3 separate regions of the Homo sapiens genome follow, and all the other regions are linked to region 1. Evidence: promoter capture Hi-C in 16 types of primary human blood cells and fetal thymus (Javierre and others, 2016). All regions are on one chromosome and are shown on one strand. The core of a region is centred on a gene start or on the middle of the fragment in contact, and the rest is flanking DNA. Distances in the headings are between cores, read along the strand shown.

Region 1 (4,982 bases), core at 1,315-3,814:
TTTCTCTAGACAGGGTCTCACTCTGTTGCCCAGTTTGGAGTGCAGTGGCACAATCATAGCTCATTGCCACCTCGAACTCTTCATCTCAAATGATCCTCCCACCTCAGCCTCCCAATGAGCTGGGACTACAAGTGTGCATCACCATGTGCAGCTAATTTTTGTATTTTTTGTAGAGATGGAGTCTCACTATGGTGCCCAGGCTGGTCTCCAACTCCTGGCCTCAAGTGAGCCTCCCACCTCAGCCTCCCAAAGTGTTGGAATTACAGGCATGAGCCACCACACCTGCCCTCTTATTTTCTTATCCTGTATTTAATTATCTGGCATAACAATTTAACCAAAGCCCTAAAAAGTCACCCAACTAGTTTTAAAAATTGTGTCTGGGCCGGGCTCGGTGGCTCACGCCTGTAATCCCAGCAGTTTGGGAGGCCGAGGCAGGTGGATCACAAGGTCAGGAGATCGAGACCTTCCTGGCTAACACGGTGAAATCCCGTCTTTACTAAAAAACAAAAAATTAACCAGGCGTGGTGGCGGGCGCCTGTAGTCCCAGCTACTCGGGAGGCTGAGGCAGGAGAATGGCGTGAACCCGGGAGGCGCAGCTTGCAGTGAGCAGAGATCGCGCCACTGCACTCCAGCCTGGGCGACAGAGCAAGACTCTGTCTCAAAAAAAAAAAAAAATTGTGTCTGTTTCCCCATTAGTTTGTCATTAACTAAGACATTTTCTCCCCAAATTTCTTTTTTTTTTTTTTTTTGAGACGGAGTCTTGCTCAGTTGCCCAGGCTGGAGTGCAGTGGTGCGATCTCGGCTCACTGCAAGCTCCGCCTCCCGGGTTCACGCCATTCTCCTGCCTCAGCCTCCCGAGTAGCTGGGACTACAGGCACCTGCCACCACGCCTGGTTAATTTTTTTTTTTGTATTTTTAGTAGAGATGGGGTTTCGCCGTGTTAGCCAGGATGGTCTCGATCTCCTGACCTCGTGATCCGCCCACCTCGGCTTCCCAAAGTGCTGAGATTACAGGCATGAGCCACCGTGCCCGGCCCCCAAATTTCTTACAGGAAATTTCTAAAGTAGACTAGAGTCCGCAGTATTTGAGCCCTGCATACCTCTCACCTGATTTCAACAACATCAGCTGCAGACTGCCCGACATTGTCTCCTCTATCCCCCTTCTCTCATACTTTTTCTTCTGGGTATTTTGAAGCACATTCTAGATGCCAAGTCACTTGCCTGTAAATACTGGAGCACACATTTCTCTGAGTGATAAGCACATTGTTTTAAAGCAGTCAGGAGGTTGTGCAATGTCATCCATCTCCCAGCAGCAGAGTTCACACATCCACACGCAACCTCCTGCTGCTTTATAGATGAAGGTGCCAGGTGAGGACATGAAAAGAATTTGCATTAAACATCAACTGACAAGCTTTTTTTTTTCTCCTGCCCTCTGTGCCGTTGGCACAACCCACCAAATTCAATCAAGTTCTTCTATATCTTCCAATACCCAGTCTGTGTCAAATGTCTCTGATTATCTGAGAACATCGTTTTATGTTGTTTGTTTTATTTTAAGAGACAGGGTCTCACTCTGTTGCCCAGGCTGGAGTGTAATGGCACAATCTCGGCTCATTGCAACCTCTGCCTCCTGGGTTCAAGCTATTCTCCTATCTCATCCTCCTGAGTAGCTGGGATTACAGGCACCCATCACCATGCCCAGCTAATTTTTGTATTTTTGCATTTTTAGTAGATGGGGTTTCACCATATTGGTCAGGCTGGTCTTGAACTCCTGACCTCAGGTGATCCACCCGTCTCAACCTCCCAAAGTGTTGGGATTACAGGCGTAAGCCACTGCACCCACCCTTGTTTGTTTTGTTTTAAGAGACAGGGTTTTGCTCTGTTGCCCAGGCAGGAATGCAGTGGTGCGATCATAGCTCGCTGAGGCCTCCAACTACTGGGCTCAAACGATCCTCCAACCTCAGCCTCCCAAATAGCTAGGACTAACACTACCACTAGTAGTAACTATGCTTAACTAATTTTTTTATTTTTATTTTTTGTAGCGACGGGGTCTCACTGTGTTGCCCAGGCTGATCTTGAACTCCAGGGTTCAAGCAATCTTCCCATCTCAGCCTCCCAAAGTGCTGGGATTACAGGTGTGAGCCACCAATGCCCAGCCCTAATTTTTGTATTTTTAGTAGAGAAGGGGTTTCACCATGTTGGCCAGGCTGGTCTCGAACTCCTGACTCAGGTGATCGCCCCCTCGGCCTCCCAAAGTGCTGGGATTATAGGCGTGAGCCACCACGCCTCGCCTGTCTCAAAAATAAATTAATTAAATTAAATATTTCAAAATACAGAAAAGTTGGAAGACAATACAGCGAACACCTGAACACCCACCACATATTATAGATGCTGCTAGTCACACTGCCCCAAACTTTTTTAAAACTTGCATTTCCCCAGTGATGCTTCCCTGACGGGGTGTGGCTTCACGGGCTCTGCCCGACGGGCCGTCCTCCCTCTGTCTCCCCAGTACCTGGTGCTCATGCTCATCGTCTACATCTTCGAGTGCGCCTCCTGCATCACGTCCTACACCCACCGTGACTACGTGAGCCCGGCGAGGCCTGGGGAGGGGCCTGACCTGCATGGGAGGGGCGAGGGTCCCGGCGCGGCGGGGCGGAGGTCGTCCTCTCTCCCCACCCAGCCCTGCCGGCCCTTGTTCTTCCCTGTTCTCCTCAGATGGTGTCCAACCCATCCCTGATCACCAAGCAGATGCTGACCTTCTACAGCGCGGACACCGACCAGGGCCAGGAGCTGACCCGCCTCTGGGACCGCGTCATGATTGAGGTGGGCGGGGTGGACCGGGTGCTGGGAGGGCCCTGGGCTCCGTCCACAGAGGCCGATAGAGCTCCCGATGTGCCAGCTTTTAGAGGAGTGAGTGCCTTAAAGACATCCGCTCATGAGATCTCTAGGAGAGCAGGGCTGCGGTCATCACCGTTCTGCGGATGAGTAAACAGGCCCAGAAAGGGAAAGTCCCTTGCCCGAGGCCACACAGTCGGTAAGTGGTGGGAGCTGGGATTGGAACCCGGCAGCCTAGCTCCTGACCTCCCTGCTCTTAGCCTACACATACTACCTCAACAGAAATGTTGATAATAACAATGATAGTAACAGCACCATTCACTGAGCTAGGTTTCACACTGTTCAAAGGACTTTTATTTTTATATTTTGAGATGGGGTCTTGCTCTGTTGCCCAGGCTGGAGTGATCATAGCTCACTGCAACCTCCAACTCCTGGGCTCAAGTGATCCTCCCGCCTCAGCTTCCCGAGTAGCTGGGAATACAGGTGCGCCCCACCACACCCGGCTAAGTTTTTTAAATTATCTTTTGTGGAGATGGGGGTCTTGCTCTATTGCCCAGGCTGGTCTGGAACTCCTGGGCTCAGGATTGGAGCGATTCTCCCACCTCCGCCTCTCAAAGTGCCGAGATCACAGGCATGAGCCACGAGTGCCTGGCCTCAAAGCACATTTTTTTTTTTCTTTTTATCTTTTTTTTTTTTTTTTTTTTTTTGAGACAGAGTCTTGCTCTGTCGCCCAGGCTGGAATGCAGTGGCGCGATCTCGGCTCACTGCAAGCTCCGCCTCCCGGGTTCACGCTATTCTCCTGCCTCAGCCTCCCGAATAGCTGGGACTACAGGCGCCTGCCACCGCGCCCAGCTGATTTTTTGTATTTTTAGTAGAGATGGGTGTTAGCCAGGATGGTCTTGATCTCCTGACCTTGTGATCCACCTGCCTCGGCCTCCCAAAGTGCTGGGATTACAGGCTTGAGCCACCGTGCCCAGCCTTTCAAAGCACTTTTAAAGCTTTTTTAATCCTCACGACCACTCCATAAGGGAGATCGGCCTTTTAGTGATGAGGAGACCAAAGCAAGAGGTTGAATATCTTGCATGAGGTCACACACCTGGTAGGTCACAGAACTGGAAGGATTCAAACTCAGACTTCCAGGTTTGAAGAGATACAGTCTTCCTCAAATCCAACATGATATTGCACTGGAAAAGGAAGAAATTGGCTGGGTGCAGTGGCTCAAACCTATAATCCCAACACTTTGGGAGGCAAAGGCGGGCAGATCACTTGAGTTCAGGGGTTCAAGACCATCCTGGCCAACATGGTGAAACCCTGTCTCTACAAAAAATACAAAAATTAGTCAGGTGTAGTAGTGTGCGCCTGTGATTCCAGCTACTTGGGAGGCTGAGGCAGGAGAATCACTTGAACCCAGGAGGGGGAGGTTGCAGTGAGCCAAGATGGCGCCACTGTACTCCAGCCTGGACAACAGAGGGAGACTCCGTCTCAAAAAAAAAAAAAAAAAAGAAGAAGAAATTGAGGACTCAAGGAAAACTGAGGCGTCAATGTGGCCCAAGTCCTCTAGCTAGCCAGGATTTGAACCCATGTTTGAAGGGTGCCCAAGCCTATGTTTTCCTCATTCAGGAGCCACAAATTAAACACCTGGATTCCTTACCAAGGCCAGGAAAAGCCAGAAATCTGCCCTTTTTGTGTTATTTTATCAGCATAGTTGTTGATAAAAATATTTTATTTTATTTTATTTTTTGAGATGGAGTTTCATTCTTGATTCCCAGGCTGGAGTGCAGTGGCACGATCTTGGCTCACTGCAGTCGCCACCTCCCGGATTCAAGCAATTCTCCTGCCCCAGCCTCTCAAGTAGCTGGGATTACAGGCGCCCACCACCACACCCGGCAAATTTTGTATTTTTAGTAGAGACGGGGTTTCATCATGTTGGTCAGGCTGGTCTCGAACTCCTGACCTCAGGTGATCCATCCACCTCGGCCTCCCAGAGAGCTGGGATTACAGGCGTGAGACACCGTGCCCGGCAAAAATATTTTAAAATAAGTCAGAGGTGCAGGTTTAATCCAAATCCCCCATCAGCCTCCTGGTCCTGGGACAAATATTGTCTGCACCGTGCTCACACACACAGACACCCACCGGACACACTCGCTTGGA
Region 2 (4,982 bases), core at 1,194-3,693, 300 kb after region 1:
CCCCTCCTAGTCTTCCCTGGTGATGCCACTCCAGTTCCAGGTCTCCTGTGAGGGCCATACATGCTCTGATGGGACCACATGTCAGCTTGTGAAGCACAGACTTAAGTGTGTGGCTGGGCACAGTGGCTCACACTTGTAATCCCAGCACTTTGGAAGGCAGAGATGGGTGGATCACTTAAGCTCAGGAGTTGGAGACCACCATGGGCAAAATGGCAAAACCCTGACTCTACAAGAAATACAAAAATTAGCCAGGTGGCATGCACCTGTAGTCCCAGCTACTTAGGAGGCTGAGGTGGGAAGATGGCTTGAGTCCAGGAGGTGGAGGTTGCAGTGAGCTGAGATCGCACCACTGCACCTCAGCCTGGGCAACAGAGCCAGACCCTGCCTCAAAATAAAAAAGAAAAAGAAAAAAGAAAAAAACAAAAAACAAAAAAGTAATTTAAAATCTAAATAAATAAATAAATGAAAAAGGCCTAAATGTGTGCCCACCACTCAGGTCACATGTGAGTCTGAGACCTTGTCCAGTTCCAAGATGGCAGGACTCCAAAACACCGTCCATCTTCAGCTCTAAGACCATGGCAGTGGCTGCATCAGGACCAAACAACACACCTGAAGCTGAGCCAAGGCTTGTGCCTGTGCTCCTGGGGGGACCTGAGCCTGAACCTGTGGCCATGGCTCATCTGGGGCTTGCACAAGTGACCGTAAATGAACCCTGCCCTGAACCTGTAGCTGCAGCCGCACCAGTGCCTCGACTTGTGACTGTGAAAGAACCACTTCCTGCAACTCTGGCTGTAGCTGAACCAGCACCTATACCACCTACCAAACCCATAGCTAACCATTGTCTACAACCATGTCCAAAACCAAGACAGTATCTGTGTCTGGGTCAGAACTGTCTCATGGCCAAGCTGGGGCTCAAGGTGGTGACAGTGACTAAACCAAGCTTAAAGACTCTGGCTGTGGCAAAATTAGGACTTGACTGTAGCAAAGGACAAGGGGCCATCACAGGGGCTACCACCTGAGCCTCTGGGCTACCATACATCTAGACTTTTTTTCTTTCTTTCTTTCTTTTTTTTTTTTTTTTGAGAAGGAGTTTTGCTCTTGTTGCCCAGGCTGGAGTGCAATGGCACGATCTCGGCTCATTGCAACCTCTACCTCCCGGGTAGAGGTTCAAGCTTGAAGGTTCTACCTTCAAGCGATTCTCCTGCCTCAGCCTCCTGAGTAGCTGGGATTACAGGCATGTGCCATTACACCAGGCTAATTTTGTATTTTTAGTAGAGATGGGGTTTCTCCATGTTGGACAGGCTGGTCTTGAACTCCCAACCTCAGGTGATCCGCCCACCTCAGCCTTCCAAAATGCTGGGATTACAGGCATGAGCCACCGCACCCGGCCTGATTTCTTTTTTTTTTTAAAGACAGGGTCGGGCCTGGCGCAGTGGCTCATGTCTGTAATCCCAGCACTTTGGGAGGCCGAGATGGGCGGATCACAAGGTTAGCAGTTTGAGACCAGCTGGCCAATAATGGTGAAACCCCGTTTCTACTAAAAATACAAAAAAATTAGCCAGGCATGGTGGCGGGTCCCTGTAATCCCAGCTACTTGGGAGGCTGAGGCAAGAGAATTGCTTGAATTCGGGAGGTGGAGGTTGCAGTGAGCCGAGATTGCACCACTGCACTTCCAGCCTGGACGACAGAGCAAGACTCCATCTAAAAAAAAAAAAAAAAAAAAAAAAAGACAGGGTCTTGCCGTCACCCACACTGGAGTTCAATGTCACAGTCTCAGCTCCCTGTAGCCTCTGTCTCCCAAGCTCAAGCAATTCGCTTGCCTCAACCTCCCGAGTACCTGGGATTACAGGTGTGCACCACCACGCCTGGCTAATTTCTGTATTTTTAGAGACGGGGTGTCACCATGTTGGCCAGGCTGGTCCAAACTCCTGGCCTCAAGCGATCTGCTCACCTCAGCCTCCTAAAGTGCCGGGATCACAGACGTGAGCCGTCGTGCCTGGCCAGTATACATCTAGATTTTCAATGACCACTTGTTCCCCATGCCTGGGATCTGCACCTACATGCTGAGCTGATGCCCCTAGTCCCTCCTCAGCAGCCTCCCTGCCTCCTAACTGTGGGTCTCCTGTCCTGAAGGGAGGCAGCCCATGTGCTTTGTCACAGGGTGCATCTTTGGTATTACCATCACTGCTGTCAAGCACAAGTGTGGCCCTATCCAGATAAGAATCACAGTGTATGGGATCTTGGGAGACCCCATCCTTCTCTGTTCATCAATTTTGGGAGCTTTTTTTCTTTTTCGAGACAGGGTCTTGTTTAGTCACCCAGGCTGGAGTGCAATGGTGCCATCATAGCTCACTGTAGCCTCAATCTCCTGGGCTCAAGTGATCCTCCCACCTCAGCCTCCCAAGTAGCTAGGACCACAGGCACACACTACCATGCCTGGCTCTTTAAATTGTTTTGAAGAGACAGGGTCTCGCTATATTGTCCAGGCTGGTCTCAAACTCCTGGCCTCAAGCAATCTTCTGTCCTCGGCCTCCCAAAGCACTAGAATCACAGGCATGTGAGCCACCATGCCTGGCAGGTCATTTTTGTCACCTCTAAAATAGAAGCAATGATATAGGCTGGGGCGGTGGCTCACATCTGTAATCCTAGCGCTTTGGGAGGCTGAGGCAGGCGGATCACCTGAGGTCAGGAGTTCGAGACCAGCCTGGCCAACATGGTGAAACCCCGTCTCTACTAAAAATACAAAAATTAGCTGGGCCTGGTGGCGCTCACCTGTAGTTTCAGCTACTAGGGAGGCTGAGGTGGGAGGATCACTTGAACCCAAGAGGCAGAGGTTGCAGTGAGCAGAGTGTGCCAGTGCACTCCAGCCTGAGTGACAGAGCAAGACTGTCTCAAAGAAAAAAAAAATTGTTTACCGGGCATAGTGGCTCATGCCCATAATCCCAGCACTTTGGGAGGCCAAGGTGGGCGGATCACCTAAGGTCAGGAGTTCGAGACCAGCCTGGCCAACATGGTGAAATCCCATCCCTACTAAAAACACAAAAATTAGCTGGGCATGGTGGCGGGTGCCTGTAATCCCAGCTACTGGGGATGCTAAAGAAGGAGAATCACTTGAACCTGGGAGGCAGAAGTTGTAGTGAGCTGAGATCACGCCACCGAACTCCAGCCTGGGGGACACAGTGAGAGTCTGTCTCAAAAAAAAAAAAAAAAAAAAAAAAAAAAAAAAAAAGATGCAATTATACAGGTCCAAAGTCCCTTATCTAAAATGTCTGGGGCCAGGTGCATTTCAGATTTTGGAATTTAGAATGGTCAAACCAGGCAAATGCCACATATTATATAACACTCCCAGTGTGTGTTACATAATCACAAACATTAATATCTTTGCAGTGAAATGTCTGAATAGTCACACAAAGGAGGATAAATTAAGACTATAGCAGCCACACATGAGTTCAGGTTAGCTTTTGCTGATAATTGAGTTTTAACATCAAACACACAAAACATATTCAGTCTTCAGGTCTTTTGGTTGTTGTTGTTGTTGTTTGCTTTTGTAGATGGTAGATAAGGGATTGTGGCTCTCTAGCTCCTCCCTCAGCAGGTTCCTGTGAGGTGAGAATGAGTTAACACAGGAAAAGCACTTGGAACAGAGTCCAACTCATGGTAAGTGTCATATGAGGGGGTGTTTGCTGTGTTTATCATTTCCTGACACAGGCATATGAAGCTTCCAAATTCCCCGAGCTGTGAACATATCCTAGGACCACATGCAGCCACTAGCATGTCCCAAATCTCTCCTCCAGGAAGGTTTAGGGGCTCTGCTCTGGTTAGAAGGTTGTGGGGGCTAGAGTATGTTTAATCCGGGTTGCTGGCTGGGGGGACCTGATGAAGGTTATGATGTACTAGTGTACCCAGACCAAACCGAGGGTTGGGCTGCTTATTCTCACAGCCTAATAATGAGACACAAATAAACTGGGAAAGAAGAGAATTTTTATTTCTGTAACTGATTACAGGGAGAAGGCCTGGAAATTATCCCCAGATCAACTCAAAATTATAACGTTTTCCAGAGCTTATATACATTCTAGGCTATATTAGAAGAAATTAATCACTTATGTCTTTAGATGAATGCAAACTTACATGAGTAAATTTACTTCATCTAAATGGGTCCAGGTGCTGGGGTGATTACCCTTATCTTGTCTCCTGCTAAATTATGGAGGCTTGGGGAGTTCCTTTAGTCTCCAATAAAGCTTGTTTGTGAAGGTCTGGGGAGTTCCTTCAGACCCCCAATAAAGCTTGTATAATCTTAAATGGGAACTGTTAAGAATTCCTTCGTGAGGCTGGGCATGGTGGCTCATGCCTGTAATACCAGCACTTTGGGAGGCTGAGGCGGGAGGATCACCTGAGGTCGGGAGTTCGAGACCAGCCTGACCAACACAGAGAAATCCCATCTCTACTAAAAATACAAAATTAGCTGGGCATGGTGGCGCATGCCTGTAATCCCAGCTACTCGGGAAGCTGAGGCAAGAGAATTGCTTGAACCTGGGAGGTGGAGGTTGTGGTGAGCTGAGATCGCGCCATTGCACTCCAGCCTGGGCAACAAGAGTGAAACTCTGTCTCAAAAAAACAAAAAATAAAGGAATTCCTTCATGATCTTGTCATGCCTCAAGGGCCAGGAAAGGCCTGGCCTAAACTCTTGGTGAGCTTTTGTTACATTCCAGCCTTTGTATGGACGCTGGCTCTACCAGCGTTTTTTGTTTTGTTTCTTTTTTCTTTTTTGAGACGGAGTCTCACTCTCTTGTCCAGGCTGGAGCACAGTGGCGCCATCTCAACTCACTGCAACCTCCTCCTCCCAGATTCAACTCTCCCAGGTAGCTGGGATTACAGGTGTGCACCACCATGCCCAGCTAATTTTTTTTGTATTTTTAGTAGAGACGGGGCTTTACTATATTGGCCAGGCTGGTCTCGAACTCCCGACCTCAGATGATCCTCCT
Region 3 (4,982 bases), core at 1,526-4,025, 270 kb before region 1:
AGGCTGGAGTGCAGTGGTGCAATCTCAGCTCACTGCAACCTCCGCCTCCTGGGTTCGAGCAATTCTTCTGCCTCAGCCTGCTGGGTAGATGGGATTACAGGTGCCAGCCATCACACCTGGCTAATCTTTATATTTTTAGCAGACATGGGGTTTCAGCGTGTTGGCAAGGCTGGTCTGGAACTCCTGACCTCAAGTGACCTGCCGCCTCAGCCTCCCAAAGTGCTGGGATTACAGCACTTTGGCATGAGCCACTGGGCCCAGCTTTTTTTTTTTTTTTTTAAAGAAATGGAGTCTGGCTCTGTCGCCCAGGCTGGAGTGCAATGGCGTGATTGCAGCTCACTACAGCCTGGAACTCCTGGGCTTAAGCAGTCCTCCCACTTCAGCTTCCTGAGTAGTTGCAAATACAAGCATGCACCAGCACACTCAGCTAATTTTTTAATTTTTTTAGCGATGGGCTACCGCTATGTTGCCCAGGCTGGTCTCAAACAACTGAATTCAAGCAATCCTTCTGCTTTAGCCTCCCAAAGTGCTGGGATTTCCAGCATGAGCCACCACATCTGGCCCCCTTTCATCTTAAAATGCTTCCCATTCTGTTTTGGGTGCCCCATATCTGACCTTTACCCTATCTGTCATTGCGGGATGCTGACAAGGACAGTGTGGCTCAATGTGGGTTTCTGTTGTCAAGATACCACAAGGGCATGGAACCAGAAGGGGGCTGTCAGTTTCTGACTGGCTGCAGCAGCTTATCAGAACGTATCACAGATCAGGAGAGGACGATATGATCAACGGATGAGGTAACCATCAGCTGAGGGCAAACAGCTCCTAACTAAAGTCAGCACTTTACAGCTGGCTCCAGTGCACTCTCCCTGTGGCTGCAGGCAGAGCAGCCAGGGCCCCTCCTCCAGCCTCCTCCCACCTCAGAGCTTCAGAGCTTCAGACATCCTTGGTGCTGAGGCCTAGGTTCCATGAGGTCAAAGGGAGAATTCAGGCCGGGCACAGTGGCTCACGCCTGTAATTCCAACACTTTGGGAGGCCAAGGTGGGTTGATCACCTGAGCTCAGGAGTTCGAGACCAGCCTGACCAATATGGTGAAACCTCATCTCTACTAAAAATACAAAAATTAGCCAGGTGTGGTGGTGAGTGCCTGTAATCCCAGCTACTCAGGAGGCTGAGTCAGGAGAATGGCGTGAACCCAGGAGAATGGAGGTTGCAGTGAGCCGAGATCGCCTCTGCACTCCAGCCTGGGCAACAGAGTGAGACTCTGTCTCAAAAAAAAAAAAAAAAGGAGAATTCAGACTAAGCTGTTTTGCAGCATCCCAAGGCTGTGTTGACCTCACGTACAGCTGCATCATGGGAGTGGGCGGTGCGACATCTCAAGTCCAACTCAACCGAGCCATGGTTCAGGCTAAGTTCCCGCTGGTGCCCCTACCTGGAACGCTCTTCAGATAGTGGCTCCTTCTCACCCATTCAAATGTCCCAGGCCTTTCCTGACAGGCCCTGCCCATCTCTCTCTCTCTCTCTCTCAATTTCCCTGCTTGCTTTTTGTTGTTGTTGTTGTTGTTGTTTGATTTTTGGTCCTTTTTTTTTTTTTTTTTTGAGGCAGAGTCTTCCTCTGTCGCCCAGGCTGGAGTGCAGTGGCATGATCTCGGCTGACTGCAATCTCTGCCTCCCAGGTTAAGGTGATTCTCCTGCCCCAGTCTCCTGAGTAGCTGGGATTACCAGTGCCCGCCACCATACCTGGCTAATTTTTGTATTTTTAGTAGAGACAGAGTTTCACCATGTTGGCCAGGCTGGTCTCAAACTCCTGACCTCAAGTGATGTGCCCGCCTCAGCTTCCCAAAGTGCTGGGGTTACAGGCATGAACCCCACCACGCCTAGCCGATTTATTTTCTTTCCCTTTTTTTTCCCCCAGACAGGACCACTGGATTGGAGTGGTGCCATCATAGTTCATTTTAATTTCCAACTCCTAGGCTCAAGTGATCCTCCCGCCTCAGCCTCCTGAGTATCTAGGACTACAGGTGTGCACCACCATGCCTGGCTAATTTTTTATTTTTATCCTTTTTTGTAGAGACAGGGGATCTCACTATGTTGCCCAGGCTGGTCTCAAACACCCAGCCTTAAGCAATCCTCCTCCTGCCTCAGCCTCCTAAGTAGCTGGGATTATAGGTGTGAGCCACCATGCCTGACTTTTTATCTCACTTTTTGTAGAGACGGGGTATCGCTATGTTGACCAGGCTGGTTTTGAACTCCTGGCCTCAAGCAGTCCTCCTGCCTGGGCCTCCCAAAGCGTTGAGATCACAGACGTGAGCCACCTTGCCTGGCCTACTTCCTTTCTTCCTGTAAAATTGCCTTGTTGGTTTGTCTACTTGTTTTCTGTTCATCCTGTTCACTCTTGTCTCCAGCTCCTAGAACAGTACCTCACACAGAGTAACGGCTCCATGTGTTTTGTGACAGGGAAGCAGACAGTGTGGCTTGTTGGAGAGGAGCCACATACCCCCGCCCCCCGATTCATACATGGTGTGACTCAGCCCGAACCATTGCTCAGTTGAGTTGGATTTGAGATGATGCACTGCCCACTCCCGTGATACAGCTGTGTGTGAGGTCAGCACAGTCTTGGGGTGCTGCCAGACAACTTAGTTTGAATTCTCCCTTTGACTCATTGGAACCTAGACCTCAGCACCAAAGATGTCCCCATACCAGTAACCCGGGCAACAGAATGCAGATAAAGGACAGGAGACAAAAGGCGCAGGTTCTGACACATTCTTTGCTTGTGTCATCAGCTAGCAAGTATTCACAGGCACATCCAACCTCCATCCTTACATTCCACAAGGATTTGAGTGTCTGTTATAGGCAAGGGACAATGCTAGGTTTTTTTTTCTAAAAACAAACTTGGGGCTGGGCATGGTGGCTCACACTTGTAATCCTAGCACTTTGGGAGGCCAAAGCGGGTGGACTGCCTGAGCTCAAGAGTTCGACAACTCTTGGTAACATGGTGAAACCCCGTCTCTGCCAAAAATACAAAAAATTAGCCAGATGCAGTGGCGTGCACCTGTGGCCCAGCTTCTCGGGAGGCTGAGGTGTGAGGATCACTTGAGCCCGAAAGGTGAAGGCTGCAGTGGGCCGCGATTGCACCACTGAACTCTAGCCTGGGCAACAGAGTGGGACCCTGTCTCAAAACAACAACAACAAAATAAGAAAGAAAGAAAGAAAAAGCGGAAGTGAGAGATGGATGTGCGTGTAGTCGTGTGGGATAATTGCCCATGGGAAGGAAACAGAATTCAACCTCTTGGAATGTAGGGGGAGGAGGAAGCCTGAAAAAACTGTTCAAATTTGGATTCTGGGCTGAGCACAGTGGCTCACGCCTGTAATCCCAGCACTTTGGGAGGCAAGGCAGGCGGATCACTTGAGGTTCGGAGTTCGAGACTAGCCTGGCCAACATGGTGAAACCCTGTCTACAAAAAATACAAAAATTAGTCGGGCGTGGTGTTGCACACCTGTAATCCCACTACTTGGAAGGCTGGGGTAGGAGAATCACTTGAACTAGGGAGGCAGAGGTTGCAGTGAGCTGAGATCGCACCACTAAACTCCAGCCTGGGTGATAGAGCAAGACTCTGCCTCAAAAAAAAAAAAATTGGACTCTGGGTGAAATAAGTCTGTTGGGGACAAAATCTGGTGGGAGACCCAGAAGGTCAAGCTGCTTTAGAAAGAGCTCAACCACTGACTTTCCTCTTTTTGACCACATGACTCTTCCAGGTATAAAAGCCTGCCGTTGGTGGAAAAGGAAAAGGTGGTCCAGTTAGACAAGATGCCACCGGCTTCTGAAACCAGACATCTTTGAAAACCCACCCATCTACCTGCAGGAAAAGGCAAGGGACCTGACCTCGCCTGGGCTCAGGGAAGAGGTTGCTGGGATCATAACCCCAGGAAGAGACGGGATGGAAGGAGAGCATGCAGGGAGCAGAGGACAGGCTACTCTCCAAGGAGGAGAGGGAAGAGGCCACAGAAATGGAAAAGGGGCCAGGACAAGTCAGTGGAGAGATGGTCAGGGCCTGGCGAGGAGGAGCAGGACAAAAGCGGTGGAGCTCAGCCCCGTGGCGGCAGGGCCACTCCCATTCATCTGGTCCTCTACTTCTGAAGTTCTCGAATGCAGAATGAGATGTACAGATGGGCCAGCAGGTGATATGCTATCTGTCATAGGTTAAGGCCTCATTATTTTATTCATTTTTAAACTTTTTTTTTTTTGAGACAGGGTCTTGTTCTGTCGCCCAGGCTGGTTTGCAGTGGTGCCACCATGGTTCACTGTAACCTTGAAGCCCCTGGGCTCAAGTGATCCTCCTGCCTCAGCCTCCAGAGTAACGAGGACTACAGGTGCACACCGCCATGCCCAGCTAATTTCTTAACGTTTTGTAGAGAAAGGCTCTCACTGTGTTGCCCAGGCTGGTCTTGAACTCCTTGACTCAAGCAATCCTCCTGTCTTGGCTTCCCAAAGTGTTGGGATTACAGGTGTGAGCCACTGCTCCCAGCCACAAGTTTTATTTTAAATGTTTACCTTTCAATGATCACTTCGAGGAGATTTAAGCTTACTCTTTCTTTTTTTTTTTTCTTGAGATGGAGTCTTGCTGTGTCGTCCAGGCTGGAGTGCAGTGGTGCTATCTTGGCTCACTGCAACCTCTGCTTCCCAGGTTCAAGTGATTCTCCTACCTCAGCCTCCCGAGTAGCTGAGACTACAGGCATGTGCCACCACTCCCTACTAATTTTTGTATTTTTAGTAGAGTCGGGGTTTCACCATGTTAGCCAGGTTGGTCTCGAACTCCTGACCTAAAGTGATCTGCCTGCCTCAGCCTCCCAAAGTGCTGGGAGGCATGAGCCACCATGCCTGGCTCATTGTCTAGTTTTTACCAAGAAGATGATGAGATATGCCAGAGGGCTCCGTATCTGCTATGAGAACGTCCCCCAAGAGCAGCTGGCCGTGGTGCTGCAGC

Evidence for each region. The method cuts DNA at HindIII sites, captures the fragments that hold promoters and counts their contacts. A CHiCAGO score of 5 or more calls a contact.
Region 2: a fragment that was not itself captured here is called in contact with the fragment with the promoter of UPK1A-AS1 in region 1 in 1 of 17 cell types (M1 macrophages); the score reaches 6.1 in M1 macrophages.
Region 3: the fragment with the promoter of LINC01531 here is called in contact with the fragment with the promoter of UPK1A-AS1 in region 1 in 5 of 17 cell types (monocytes, neutrophils, M0 macrophages and 2 more); the score reaches 9.2 in monocytes.

Annotation. Positions count from the first base shown.
Region 1 is chr19:35,670,727-35,675,708 of GRCh38, forward strand. It overlaps UPK1A-AS1 (UPK1A antisense RNA 1), which reads right to left and starts at 2,565. Exons shown (of 2, transcript NR_046420.1): 1 at 2,509-2,565. It overlaps UPK1A (uroplakin 1A), which reads left to right. Exons shown (of 8, transcript NM_007000.4): 4 at 2,506-2,580; 5 at 2,712-2,819. The HindIII fragment of the contact is 2,419 bases long and covers 1,409-3,827 here.
Region 2 is chr19:35,966,214-35,971,195 of GRCh38, forward strand. No RefSeq gene overlaps it. Among named protein-coding and RNA genes, the nearest start is that of SDHAF1, 26 kb to the right of the region's middle. The HindIII fragment of the contact is 2,546 bases long and covers 1,171-3,716 here.
Region 3 is chr19:35,402,832-35,407,813 of GRCh38, forward strand. It overlaps LINC01531 (long intergenic non-protein coding RNA 1531), which reads left to right and starts at 2,776. Exons shown (of 5, transcript NR_040046.1): 1 at 2,776-2,850; 2 at 3,754-4,982. The HindIII fragment of the contact is 14,783 bases long and covers 1-4,577 here.